Regions from separate parts of the Homo sapiens genome. Here regions 2 and 3 are each linked to region 1. Evidence: promoter capture Hi-C in human tissues and cell types (Jung and others, 2019). All regions are on one chromosome and are shown on one strand. The core of a region is centred on a gene start or on the middle of the fragment in contact, and the rest is flanking DNA. Distances in the headings are between cores, read along the strand shown.

Region 1 (3,575 bases), core at 793-3,292:
ACATATGTGGCCTTTCACTTACCCAGGGCAGTGCTACACAGAGAAAAAGAAGGAATCACTGAGGGGAAAAATTGTCTTATTTAAGTTTTAGATTTGAGGGCCACGTAAAAGGTCACTGATACACAAACCACTGACATCAATGCTATTGTAATTTCCTAGTTTTTGGCCGAAATAAGTAGATTCTTTAAAGTCTCCACCACAAATTAAATGCCTTAATGGAAATCAGTGATCAGACATGAAGTGCACATACCCCTATCTTATCTACTTTTAATGGAAATAATTTTGCGTAATTTTAAAGATCTACTCCACTAGCACAGGGCAAGCTGGTACATACAAATAGTATTTGAAGTTAAATAAGAAAAAAGTGGGAATATAAGTAAACCTCATTTAAAGTTAATGAATTTTACCCTTGATAATAGAATTTAATTACATTTTTCTCTTGTATCTGTAGACACACATGCACCTGCCCTTACAATTGTGGTTCCAATAAAAGTGTCTCTTTATCAATTCAAGAGCATGCTAACTGAGAGCTTTATGGAATTCTGTAGTACTCACCTTGGTGCTGTACAAGTGCGAAGATGAAAGAGACCCAAATTCTAAGGAATGATGAATAATTCATCCTGGAATTTTAAAAAGAAAATGAAAAAAAAATCCCCAGCTTGCCAGAGTAAACAGAACACCAGGTGTGTTTAGTGGCTAATCCCAAGACCATCAAAACCGTCATAGAACAAATTCACATAACAACATCAACAGTGCTGAGTCGGGCTGAAATCCCCTGAATGCTGGCAGGTCCTCCGAAGTTCAACACTTCATGAACAAATTAGATGCCCAGAAGAAGCCAGTCTGGAAGTGTAATGAGATCATTCAAACTGTCAAGTAATTATTTAGGATCAGTGAGAGTGGTATGCGTAAAGGAAAGGTATCCCCTCTGCATCAAATAAAGCGCTGAAAACTAGGACCCAACGCTAAAGATGCATGCAGGTCCCGGGTTGTGTCTCTGCAGCAGAAACCACACCCCAGTGAGACCTGGATTTCCTAATTTTCACTACAGCTTTCCATCAGAATCAAACAAAAGTTGGTTAAAACACAATGTGTTCTACAGCTAGGAGAATTTAGAGTCTGCCATCACCTTCTCCATAGAATGGAGCCGATCCATCATTTTGAAGTATTGACCAGATTCAGGGCCAGTCTACTCTGTTCACTGACTTCCCACAGTGAAATGAATGATAGAAACATTAGTAATAAAAAAGGACCAATCCAGAGTTGGAATCACAATAAAAATAGAATCCAGCGCACAAGCAACCAATTAGTTCCAGCAAGTTAATTAAAGAAGGAACACAGCAAAGAGAAACTTGTTTTCGTGTTAGTTTACAATCGGTTGCATGGTGGCTTTACCCTCCATCAGGAGCATGTTTTGTCTGTGTCACTCTGCAAAGCTGCGATGAGAACACGGACGCAAGCTCAAGTTAGACATCACCCAAGCGTGTGGCTAGACCATGAAGTCTCCTCCTGACAGTATTCTTAAAAAAGAAAAACCTTCCTCTTATCATTTGAAGTTATCACAATTCTTCAGCCAAACTTTCACGGGAAAGGCAATGAATTTATCCTGTGAGAGTTTTATTGCAAATCTTTAGTTGTCAAGTATATATGTTGTAATTTCAAGCACATATTAAATATTAGACAGTTTTGCTGGAAAGGGTACAAAGGTTTAGCAGAGATCACACACAGCTTTAATGGAGAAGATGCCGTGCAAGTTTAAGACTAGAGCCCTTAGGGAACCGGTTCAGAGAGAAGTAAGGAGGATTCATTTAGATATTTGTATTTATGAAAAATGTCACTAACCTGTTCTGTAGAGGCTGGAGGAACTGAGTCAGAAATATTAAGCCAAATCTTGGTAAGCCAGAAAAAATTAGGTAAAACAAGAATTCATGTCAGTTCTCCTCAACTTGTTGCCAATAATTTCTGATTCCTGAAATAATGTCTGAATCTCGTACTCTTAAAACCAAAAATTAAGTTAGTCCTGCACTAGAGACAGGTAAGTGTTGAGCTGCAATCAAGTTTTTTTCTATTGATTAAGGAAAAGTAAATCTAAAGATCAGTTTCAGGATTGCGTAGAGAGGTTCTTTTCCTGAAAAACTAGACCTTTTTTTTTCCCCTTTGAAAAAAAAAGTAGATTCAGATGGAAATGTCAGGTACTTGGAGCTGAAACCTTGGGCCTTTCTGATCAGAATCACTTTGCACTGAAAAACACAAAAGAAAACCCCCCTTCTACCTTTGTACCCAAAAGAAGGCAACTGTATAATGTTACAGAATTAGCATCCACCAGCATGGGATTAAAACTCCAAACAAAGCAGCTGCCTCCAACATTTAAATGAAGTTGGTTTTCTATTAAAGTCTTTTTTTGTTTCTCTGGTTTTCAACAGTCGCCACAGATAGGCTCTACTCTATTTTTTCACAGGTATGCATGAAGTATTTAAAGAAAATTTCCAAACTTTTTAGGTTTTATGCCCTCTCTTTTCTCTCTGATGCACCGCTCTGCAGGAGATAGGACAGGGCACTTTCCAGGCAAAATCTAACAAGGGACCTAGCGCTAGACACGATCTTCCACAAGGGAAATCTCAAACTGTGGCCTGGAAACCTTCCCTAACACCCAGTGAGGGTCACTGGAGGCAGAGGGGGGAGATAAACCCCTTCTGATAAAAAATTTGCAGTAAGTAAATAGTTTAAAAGGCATGTGAATAAGAGGAAAACGTGCTCGGTTAGATGCTTCCAAGCATCCAGTAGATGTGGAATGAGCAAAACTGGCTAAGGCATAAGCTAAATCTACTATTCAAAATGTTTAAATGGAATTTATTAAGAAAGAAGTAACTTGACTGTAGCAGGAAAAAAAAACTCTTCTGCACATCAATGGGAATTTAAAAATTACTGCAAATTTTCTCTGACCAGACATTTAAATGCCAACTGTACAAAAGAAATATAATTCTGGGTTTAAGCATGTTGTCTTAAAATGGACAAGAGTGCTTGGCGAGCTAAATTTTTTTAGTTTAAATTACTCCGTGTTTTTCCAAAAACCTGTGATAATTCAGTAGGTTTCCCACATTGTTTATTCTCTCACTGGTATTATGAATCCTCCACACATATTTACTTACAGATGTTAAATGACTGCTTCTTTCCAAATGACTCACATTTATTTGTTTTTCTTTGGATTCTAGGAGTGCTTAGAATGGCGTATATTTATATAACAGAAAAGCTAGTTTCTTGGGTGCCTATTTAAAATAAAATTAAGTTCAAATCAAAGACTCATTACAGAAGGATTCTCTTTGTCCAGCCTTAGGTTTTAGTCCAGTAGCCAACCTAAATGTCTTGAAGCAAAATCGCTGGCTGTGTTTTAATTAACTGCTGGTGGCATACTAATTGCTTTCTTCCTTTTTCATGCATTCTAGGATATTTATATCACAGCCCTTTTGACCCATGTTGGATGCTCCATCCTTCTTGAGACAGGACTGCTGCCCGGATAAATGCCATCTGGGCATAACCAGATACACAAGATGGTGGCATACATGAATTAGAATGCC
Region 2 (3,873 bases), core at 208-2,707, 420 kb after region 1:
AAGAGTATTCTAGGCAGTGGAGACAGCAAAGGCCCAGCGATGTGAGAGGCAAGGATGTTCTAGGGACTCCAGCGTCTGCAGTACAGAATTCATGGGTATTGAGTGTTTACGGTAGGGATAGGGATGGGAACGATGTTGAAAGATGAAGCCACCTGGATCATCTGCAGCCTGCCTGTGAAGGCTTCCCATGCCCTGAAAAGGAGTTTGAGCTTCCTCCTGCAAAGACAGAACTGAGAAAGAGTGAGGATGGGAGGCATGAGAGAGCCCAAAGGTTAGCATGTCTGAGGTGGGCAGGGGAGGTTCAGTTAGACAAGTCCTCCCTGCCAGGAGGGTCCCTGCTCTCTTCATGTGTCCAGAGGGTGGAGACACTACAGGTTCCCATCTTGGTGCCTCTGGGCCTGGCACTGCCCAGCTGCTCCCTGCACCATCACAACTCTAGGCAGACACCCTGCCTGCCATGCAGTGGCCTGTCCCAGGACTGTATTAGATGGCCCTGCATGGGCCATGCTCCAGGGACCACTGGCAGCTCCTTCCCAGTGGGCTGCAAAACACTGGGGAAAAGAACAGAGAAGCCAAGAGCTGCATTCTCCATACTCTTTCCTGGGCTCCGGGGGCACTAGGTTTTCCATTCTTTTCCTGGGCTGTTTACTCAAAAAGTTAAGCTTAACCAAAAGAGAAGAAGGGCACTGACTCTGACGGAGGGCAGGGCAGTATAAGGGACATGTGGTCTCTCCAGAGGCAGACAGGGCTTGGATTTGAACACCAGCTAAGTTATGAATTTCTCTGAGCCTCTGGTTTTTCATCTGTGAAATGGAGGTGGTGGTAGGATTAATCATTTTGAAGAGCATTTACCATACTGCCTGGCACATAATAAATACTGAATAAATGCTGCTGTTATTATAAAGCTAGATATTTCTAGCTCCAGAAGTCCCAACTCTTATCTCAAACTCTTCTCTCCCTTTAGGGTGTTCTCTGCACTCCCACCCCTATTCCCTCTATTTTAAGGATTGGCTCTTTAAAAACAAAAACAAAAACAAACAAACAAAAAAAAAAAACCAGGCCAGGCGTGGTGGCTCATACCTGTAATCCCAGCACTTTGGGAGGCCGAGGCATGTGGATCACAAGGTCGGGAGTTCGAGACCAGCCTGGCCAAGATGGTGAAACCCTGTCTCTATTAAAAATACAAAAAATTAACCAGGTGTGGTGGCACGTACCTGTAATCCCAGCTACATGGGAGGCTGGGGCAGGAGAATTGCTTGAACCCGGTGGGTGGAGGTTGTAGTGAGCCAAGATCGTGCCACTTTACTCCAGCCTGGATGACGGAGCAAGACTCCGTCTCAAAAACAAAAACTAAAACAAAAAAAAAAAAACCCTTCTAGTGGAGCCCCTCGCCTGGTCTATAGGACCACCAGCCAAGCCACTCCTCTATTTTGGCCCCTTCCCTTGGTGCTTTCCTGAAAGAGAAGCACCCGGTACACTTAGCTGGCTGAATAAATAGCAATAATAATAAATGTTCAGCTATTAGCCGCATAAGTAATCAAAGATCACTGCCATATGATTCCTGGTTAAACATCATTTGGAATCTAATAAATAAGCGACTATAAATAAAGCCAGCATGCAGACTTGGCCCTTCTGAGCACCACAGCCTCAGCTCTCAATTTTAACCTAACGGTGCCTTTAGCACTAACCCTGTGGTTCCATTTTAAGTTAGTTCCTCTCTCTCAAGTGTCTGAAAAGGAAACCAGCAGAGGTGGGGACAAGAAGGGGGATGAGGTGTGGGGTCTGCCCTAAAGAAACGGAGGTTGTCCCATGGGTCTTGGGCAGACCTCAATCACACCTACCTTCTCTTGCACCTCCAGAGCCACAGGCACTGCCCAGAGGCCTCGGGGTCTCTGCAGAGGGGAGCACAGCAGGGAGGAGTCTAGTGTAATAGATAGAGCATGGGGTTGGCGCCAGGGAGTCTGGCTCAAATCCAGCATCTTCCATGTTCTGCATGGGTGACCTTGGTCCCTCCACACCTCAGTTTCCACACCCAAATAGCAGACATTACCAAACCTACCTCTGGAGGTTGTTATAAAAATTAATCATATAACTTATGGAAGTGATGGGCACAGTAGATGCTCAATAAACATGAATGTCATCCCCTCTCCTGTGATGTACAGTATCTTAAAGGGATGGTCCACTGCCCTCTCTCTTACTCTGCTCTAGGCAGCAACAAAAGAAATATCAAACAGGGAAAAGGAGGCGCAAAATGGCAATGTCCCCACGGTCCCTGGACCACCACAGTCACCACTGCCTAACTCCAGAGCTGATGTCTCAGCACTTAATACTTCCTTATTTCGTATCGCCCTCTAGTTCCTTCATGTCTGAGAGTCTGGCCTTTCCACATTTAGAACATGTACCAACAAAATATCCTATTTCTTTGTATTTTCCATAGAGCTGAGCCCTAAACAGGGCATTGTCAGTATTAAGTAAGTACCAGAGAACAGAGGAACAGGCAGGACCAGCTTCAGATCCTAAGTGTTCTCATTCTTCACACATAGCAGTACTCTCCTACATCACATTGCTTCTTAAAGCACACATAGATCTGTGCCCTTCTGGAAGGATGGCAGGCAGAATAAGACAGAGTCTGCTGGGACTGTGGCGGGATGTTATTCTCTCTAGACCCCATGGCAGGAAATAAACACATCATTCTGAGCGGAGCCCAGCGGAGCCCACACAACACAGGCTCAGATCACACTCAGCTCTCAGGCTACTCCTTTAGTGCCCTGACATGTTAGGAGTGGCGAGATTACTAAATCAACGTGATAAAATACTTCCTGTTACACAGCCCCTTCCCAGCTGTCTCTTCCCTGGTGGCATAATCTCAGTTGCAGTAATGGAAGAGCCAACATGTCCAGTTCCCTCTGTCCATTGAAAAAAACACATCAGCTTCGGTGCTCTGGGATGCCTGGTTCTTATGCAAAATGGTTGATGATCACAGGAGTAAGGCAACTTGGGCCAAGGATCGAGCTATGGACAGTTTCCAAGTGTGCAGTCCCTGCACATGGAACTGCTCATGAGAAGGTTTTCCAGCGGCTTAGCCTCCCACATTACAAGAACAGTTGTTGTAGAAAGAATAATGGCCCCCAAAGATGCCCACATCCTAAAACCCAGTCCCTGCAAATGCATTACCTTCCATGGTGCTATGGTTTGGACATGGTTTGTTTGTCCCCATCAAACTCATGTTGAAATTTTATCCCTAATGTGGCAGTGCTGGGAAGTGGGGCCCGGTAGGAGGTGTTTGGGTTGTGGGGGTGGATTCCTCATGAATGGCTTGGTGCTGTTCTGCAGTGAGTGAGTTCTTGCTCTCAAGCGACAGGACTATTTATTGCAGGAATGGATTCCTTCCCAAGAGAGTGTGGGTTGTTAGAAAGTCAAGACACCCGTCAGGTTTTTCCCTCTTTGCACATATCTGCCTCCCCTTTTGATCTTCTCTGCCATGTTGTGATGCAGTACGAAAGCTCTCACCAGAAGCCAGGGCCACGCCCTGGAGCTTCCCAGCCTGCAGAACTATGAGCTAAATAAACCTCTTTTCTTTACAAATTGCCTAGGCTTGGGTGTTCTTTTACAGCAACACAAAATGGACTAAGACACGTGGCAAAAGGAGCTTTGCAAATGTGAGTAAGGTTACAGATCTTGAGGCAGGGAGATGATCCTGGCTTATCCTGGGAGATTCAATCGAATCTCATGAGTCCTTAAGATTGGAGAACCTTTCCCAGCTGAGCTCAGTGAGCTTGTGAGGCGAGAATGACTCAACCCACCATTACTGGCCTTGAAAATGGAGGAAGAGGAAAATGGAGCCAGGGGATGCAGCGGCCTCTAGAAGCTGGG
Region 3 (4,084 bases), core at 279-2,778, 470 kb after region 1:
CTGAGCTCCCTGAATGTCAGGAAGGCCCTGGGTGACTGCGGCACGCAGGACTCAGGGTGCAGTGCAAGGCTTGCCAGGGAATTTGCAACTTCAAAATACACACAGGACTCTGACCTACGCCTCTCAATTTGCATAGCTGACTCAGTGCACCTTGGGTGGTTGCAGCATGTTTCCAAGAATTATTCAAACATCTGTCCCCTTCTGAGTGGGGAAGGGGTTGGGGTGGGATGTGCTTGGTTCCTAACCCAAGATGATCTCTGACAAGAGTTCATGGCAGGCAGAGAAGGAACCCGACCCTTTGCAGGGACCGTAATATGAAGTTTCAGCTGGGAATCCTGGGCCACACTCAGCTGCCCTCCTATCTCCTCTGTCTGGAAAACGGAAAGAAGGCAAGAAACAAGCCCCATAGCTGCTCAAGGTCCTCTGGCCTCCCTGGTCTGTCTTCTCCCAGGCTTTGCTCCCCAGCTGCCAAGGCGAAGCTCAACTGAGGTGCAAGGGGGACGTTCGCATCTCGCTTTCCCTAGAGATGGCGGATGCTCAGTCTGGCCACCTGCTCAAGTCAAGTAGCAGGCAGGTCACATGCTTGGCGACTCCGTGAGCTGGGCACGAAGATTGGCAGAGAGGAGGAAGGGAAGCCCTGGCAAGGTGAATCGCCCCCTCCTGCCCACGAGGGTCTCTTGAGAACTCCCACAAGGAACCTCCCACTGTCTCCGGACTCCGTTCTCTGTCTCTTTTCAGCTCCCAAATCTGCTGTCTCCAGATCACTGGGGTTTCCAGACAGAGCAACAAGTCTCCCATCTGACAGACTCAATTCCGAGTGGGTCCCTAGAGGAACAGAGTCTCTCTGAAGAGTCTGGGGTAGGCAGGCCGGCAGGCTGGGAGAGTCTTTGGTGTCTGGGAGGGCTCCTTCCAGAAAGGCCAAGGCGAGGCCCTGGCAGAAGCTGCAGAACCCTTGGGGGAGGAGGGAACTCTGTGTTACAAGCAGAGAACTTTCAACCTGGGAAATGGCACCACGGGATGGTGGCGGGGTGGTGTGGGAGAAGCTTTGGAATGGGGAAAGCTGGGTTTGAATGCCAGCTCCGCCTCCTGTTTGCTGCAGAACTTCAGGCATAGCCCTGGCACTGAGTAGGGTCTCAGCACACGTTAGCTGTCATGTTCAACAACTAACACTCTAACAAGGCTAGAGTGACAGAGAGAGTGCGTCAGGAAACACAGGGCACCAGAGGCCCCCTCTTGCCATTTATTCGGCGGCTTACAACTTGTCAGGCAGGACGCCAAGCACTTTACATATATTATCGTGCTTAATCTGCACACACACTGGAAGGCAGGTCTAAAGAGCCCCATTTTAGAAATGAGGTTCAGAAAGGTGCAGCCGCTGCTCTAACGTTACACTGCTCATAAGCGGAAACAACAGGATTTGAACCTACGTTTGGCCACCTCCAAGTTCTGTCCTACTAATCGCTGTGCTCTCTCTCCCCAAGAGCCCTTCTCCCACCCCCGTGCTCACAGATCTTCAGTTTGCATCAGCTCAGAGGTTTGCAATCGTCTTTCACACATCCCACTGGGAGATGTGCCGCAAGCAGGGCCCTTATCTCAAAAAATCTCCATGCCCAGCCACACTTCCCTTCTGCCTATGCTTGGTTCTCCCCAGCAAACCCCCACAGTAGCAGCAGGGAGACAGAGAAACTCTCCCTTCCCCTCCCAGCCTCTCCCTGCTCAGGGGCCTTCTAATGCTAACACAGCCCATCCCCTTTCATTTGAGGGGACCTGTGGCTTTCATTTCCCTCTTTACTTAAAAAAGCCAACTCAGTACACTTTTGATGCTTCAAATTTATCTTTATTAATAAACAATAAAAGTTAAAAGCTTCCCCGGTCCCTAATTAAACACCATCAATAGCAGATATGGCAGCCTAGCTTCAGACACAGAGCAACGTCCTGACAATGTCTAAGTCAAAGGCTTTCAAAGCAGGTGCATGCGAGCACACACATGTGCTCACGTGCACAGAACAAGGCATGGGCAGCGATTAAGAGGGGCCAGCGTCTGCAGAGAGTCCTCTTTATCCCAGGAAATGGCTCTCTCCGCTCCCCATCGAGAAGGCCTGGGAGTCCTATGAGGCCTGGCCCTGCACTCACTGTGTCTCTGATTTACAGGGCTCTGAAAGCCTGACATGGCCATTTAAGTACTTTAAATATGCCCAAAATGATAATTACCTTGCCATTGGCACTTCATCTTAAACGAAGCTCCAGGCCAAGAAGACTCTGAACTCACTGTCACTGAACATATAATGTTCTTGGTTGACTCTACTCTTCTGCATGGCGCTGGTGGCTCTGTGGGCAGCTGCCACCCAAGGCAAAGGGCACTGAACTTAGGATCAGATGACCAAGGTGCCATCATCTGTTTGTGTGCCTGGGTGAACCATGTGCCTTCTAAGTTTCCTCATCTGTTAAATGGCTGATGATAGAACCAGCCCATCTCATGGCTTATTTGTGAGGGCCAAAGGAAACGACCTGTGAACTCCAAGGTGGGTTAAGACGTGAGCTAGTAACAAGGTCATAGTGTCAATGGCCCCAAGCTGGGTGTTCCTCTACAGCAGAGAAGCACACTCCAGTCTCCCCAGTGGTGGAGAAGGGCTTATCAACTCTGAGCACACAGAAGCCTCTGGGGGATGCTGGTGGTAGTGCAAGGGGTTGCAGGAGATCCTCAGAATCAGGAACCCTCAGTTCTGGGGGTGCTCTTCTACCCATTCCCAGGACATGCTGGGTGGTGTGAGTTGAGTGCTATTCCTGGAAGAGCCAAGTTTTCAGCAAGATAAATGGAGCTGCAAGAGCAGGAAGAAGGTGGCTGGGACAAACGGGGACAAGTGTTAGACTTCTATATCTCATACCTGGAGCTAACCTGGAAACGGGAAGCACAGTGAGACCCTCGGGTTCTAAGTGAGCAGGGTCCAGCCTGACAATACAGGACAAGGAGAAGAAAGAGAGGAGGAGAAGGGGACACGGAGCATGGAAGCAGAACCCCACCCTGAGCTACGTTCTTTACTCATTATCTCAATTCAGCCTTATAAATCTATGAGGTGGATGTCGTAGTTTGAGGTGGTTTATAAACCATAGAAATTTATTTCTCACCGTTCTGAAGGCTAGAGGTCTGAGATCAAGGTGCGACATGGTCAGGTTCTGGTGAAGGCTGTCTTCCAGGTTGCAGATGGCCAGCTTCTTGTATCTTCACATGGTGGAAAGAGAGAGCAAGCTCTCTGGGGTCTCTTATACAAGGGCACACATCCCATTCATGAGGCCTCCACGCCTATGACCTCCCAAAGGCTCACTTCTTAATACCATCACACTGGGGGCTAGGATTCAACACACGAATTTCAAGGGGACACAAACATTCAGTCCACAGCAGTGGGTACTGCCATTCATTTCCAGATGAGGAAGCTTGGAAGGGGTAAGGAGCTTGCCCCTGACTGCTCAACAGTATATGATCATGCTGGACTTCAAACCTGGGATCACCTGACTCCAAGTTGGTGTTCTCATCCCCACCCCACCAAGCTCCAAGGCTGGGGGTCTCTGGAGCAGATGGAACCTGTGTGCCTCCTACAAGCCCAGCGGTGGTGTCGTAGGAGCTCTGGAGTAAACAGTAATTTGAGACAAGACCTTTGTCCTCAAAGGGTTTTCAGCATAATTGGAGAGACAAGCCCATGAGGCAATCCTAATAATCAGCCCTAAATTATGAGAAAATTAGGAGTTCAAGGCAAGAGTCATCTTTAAAATCCTTTCATGAAATCAGCTGGGAAGACTCTCCTGACCTCATTGCCCCCAAAGGCCTCTGTCCCCTCTCACTCCTGGGTGAGACTTTTGTGCTGCCTACTGTCCTGGGGGCAGAGGGAGGGGGACGCTGCTGAGTTTACCAGGCTTGTCACTCTCTCCTTGGACCTTAAGAGGCTCCCATCGACTCGGAGGCCTGGCCCTGGATGACACAACCACCTACACTGGGCATCGATGCTTTAGTAGCGTCACATCCTGGCTACTCAAAGTGTGGCCTGTGGGCAACAGCATCCATATCCCCAGGGAGCTCATGAGAAACGCC

Evidence for each region. The method cuts DNA at HindIII sites, captures the fragments that hold promoters and counts their contacts. A contact is called where the count stands out against the background at its distance.
Region 2: a contact is called between a fragment that was not itself captured here and the fragment with the promoter of TECTA in region 1, in 1 of the 25 tissues and cell types used here (H1 embryonic stem cells).
Region 3: a contact is called between a fragment that was not itself captured here and the fragment with the promoter of TECTA in region 1, in 1 of the 25 tissues and cell types used here (dorsolateral prefrontal cortex).

The regions. Positions count from the first base shown.
Region 1 is chr11:121,099,710-121,103,284 of GRCh38, reverse strand. TECTA (tectorin alpha) reads right to left here and starts at 2,042. Exons shown (of 24, transcript NM_005422.4): 1 at 1,843-2,042; 2 at 556-620. The coding sequence starts at 619. It overlaps TBCEL-TECTA (TBCEL-TECTA readthrough), which reads right to left. Exons shown (of 30, transcript NM_001378761.1): 8 at 556-620. The HindIII fragment of the contact is 17,013 bases long and covers 1-3,575 here.
Region 2 is chr11:120,676,118-120,679,990 of GRCh38, reverse strand. The region is part of intron 3 of GRIK4 (glutamate ionotropic receptor kainate type subunit 4); the gene reads right to left. Among named protein-coding and RNA genes, the nearest start is that of GRIK4, 170 kb to the right of the region's middle. The HindIII fragment of the contact is 4,409 bases long and covers 1-3,661 here.
Region 3 is chr11:120,631,349-120,635,432 of GRCh38, reverse strand. All of the region lies in intron 1 of GRIK4 (glutamate ionotropic receptor kainate type subunit 4), which reads right to left. Among named protein-coding and RNA genes, the nearest start is that of GRIK4, 120 kb to the right of the region's middle. RefSeq lists an enhancer at 516-1,495. The HindIII fragment of the contact is 5,851 bases long and covers 1-4,084 here.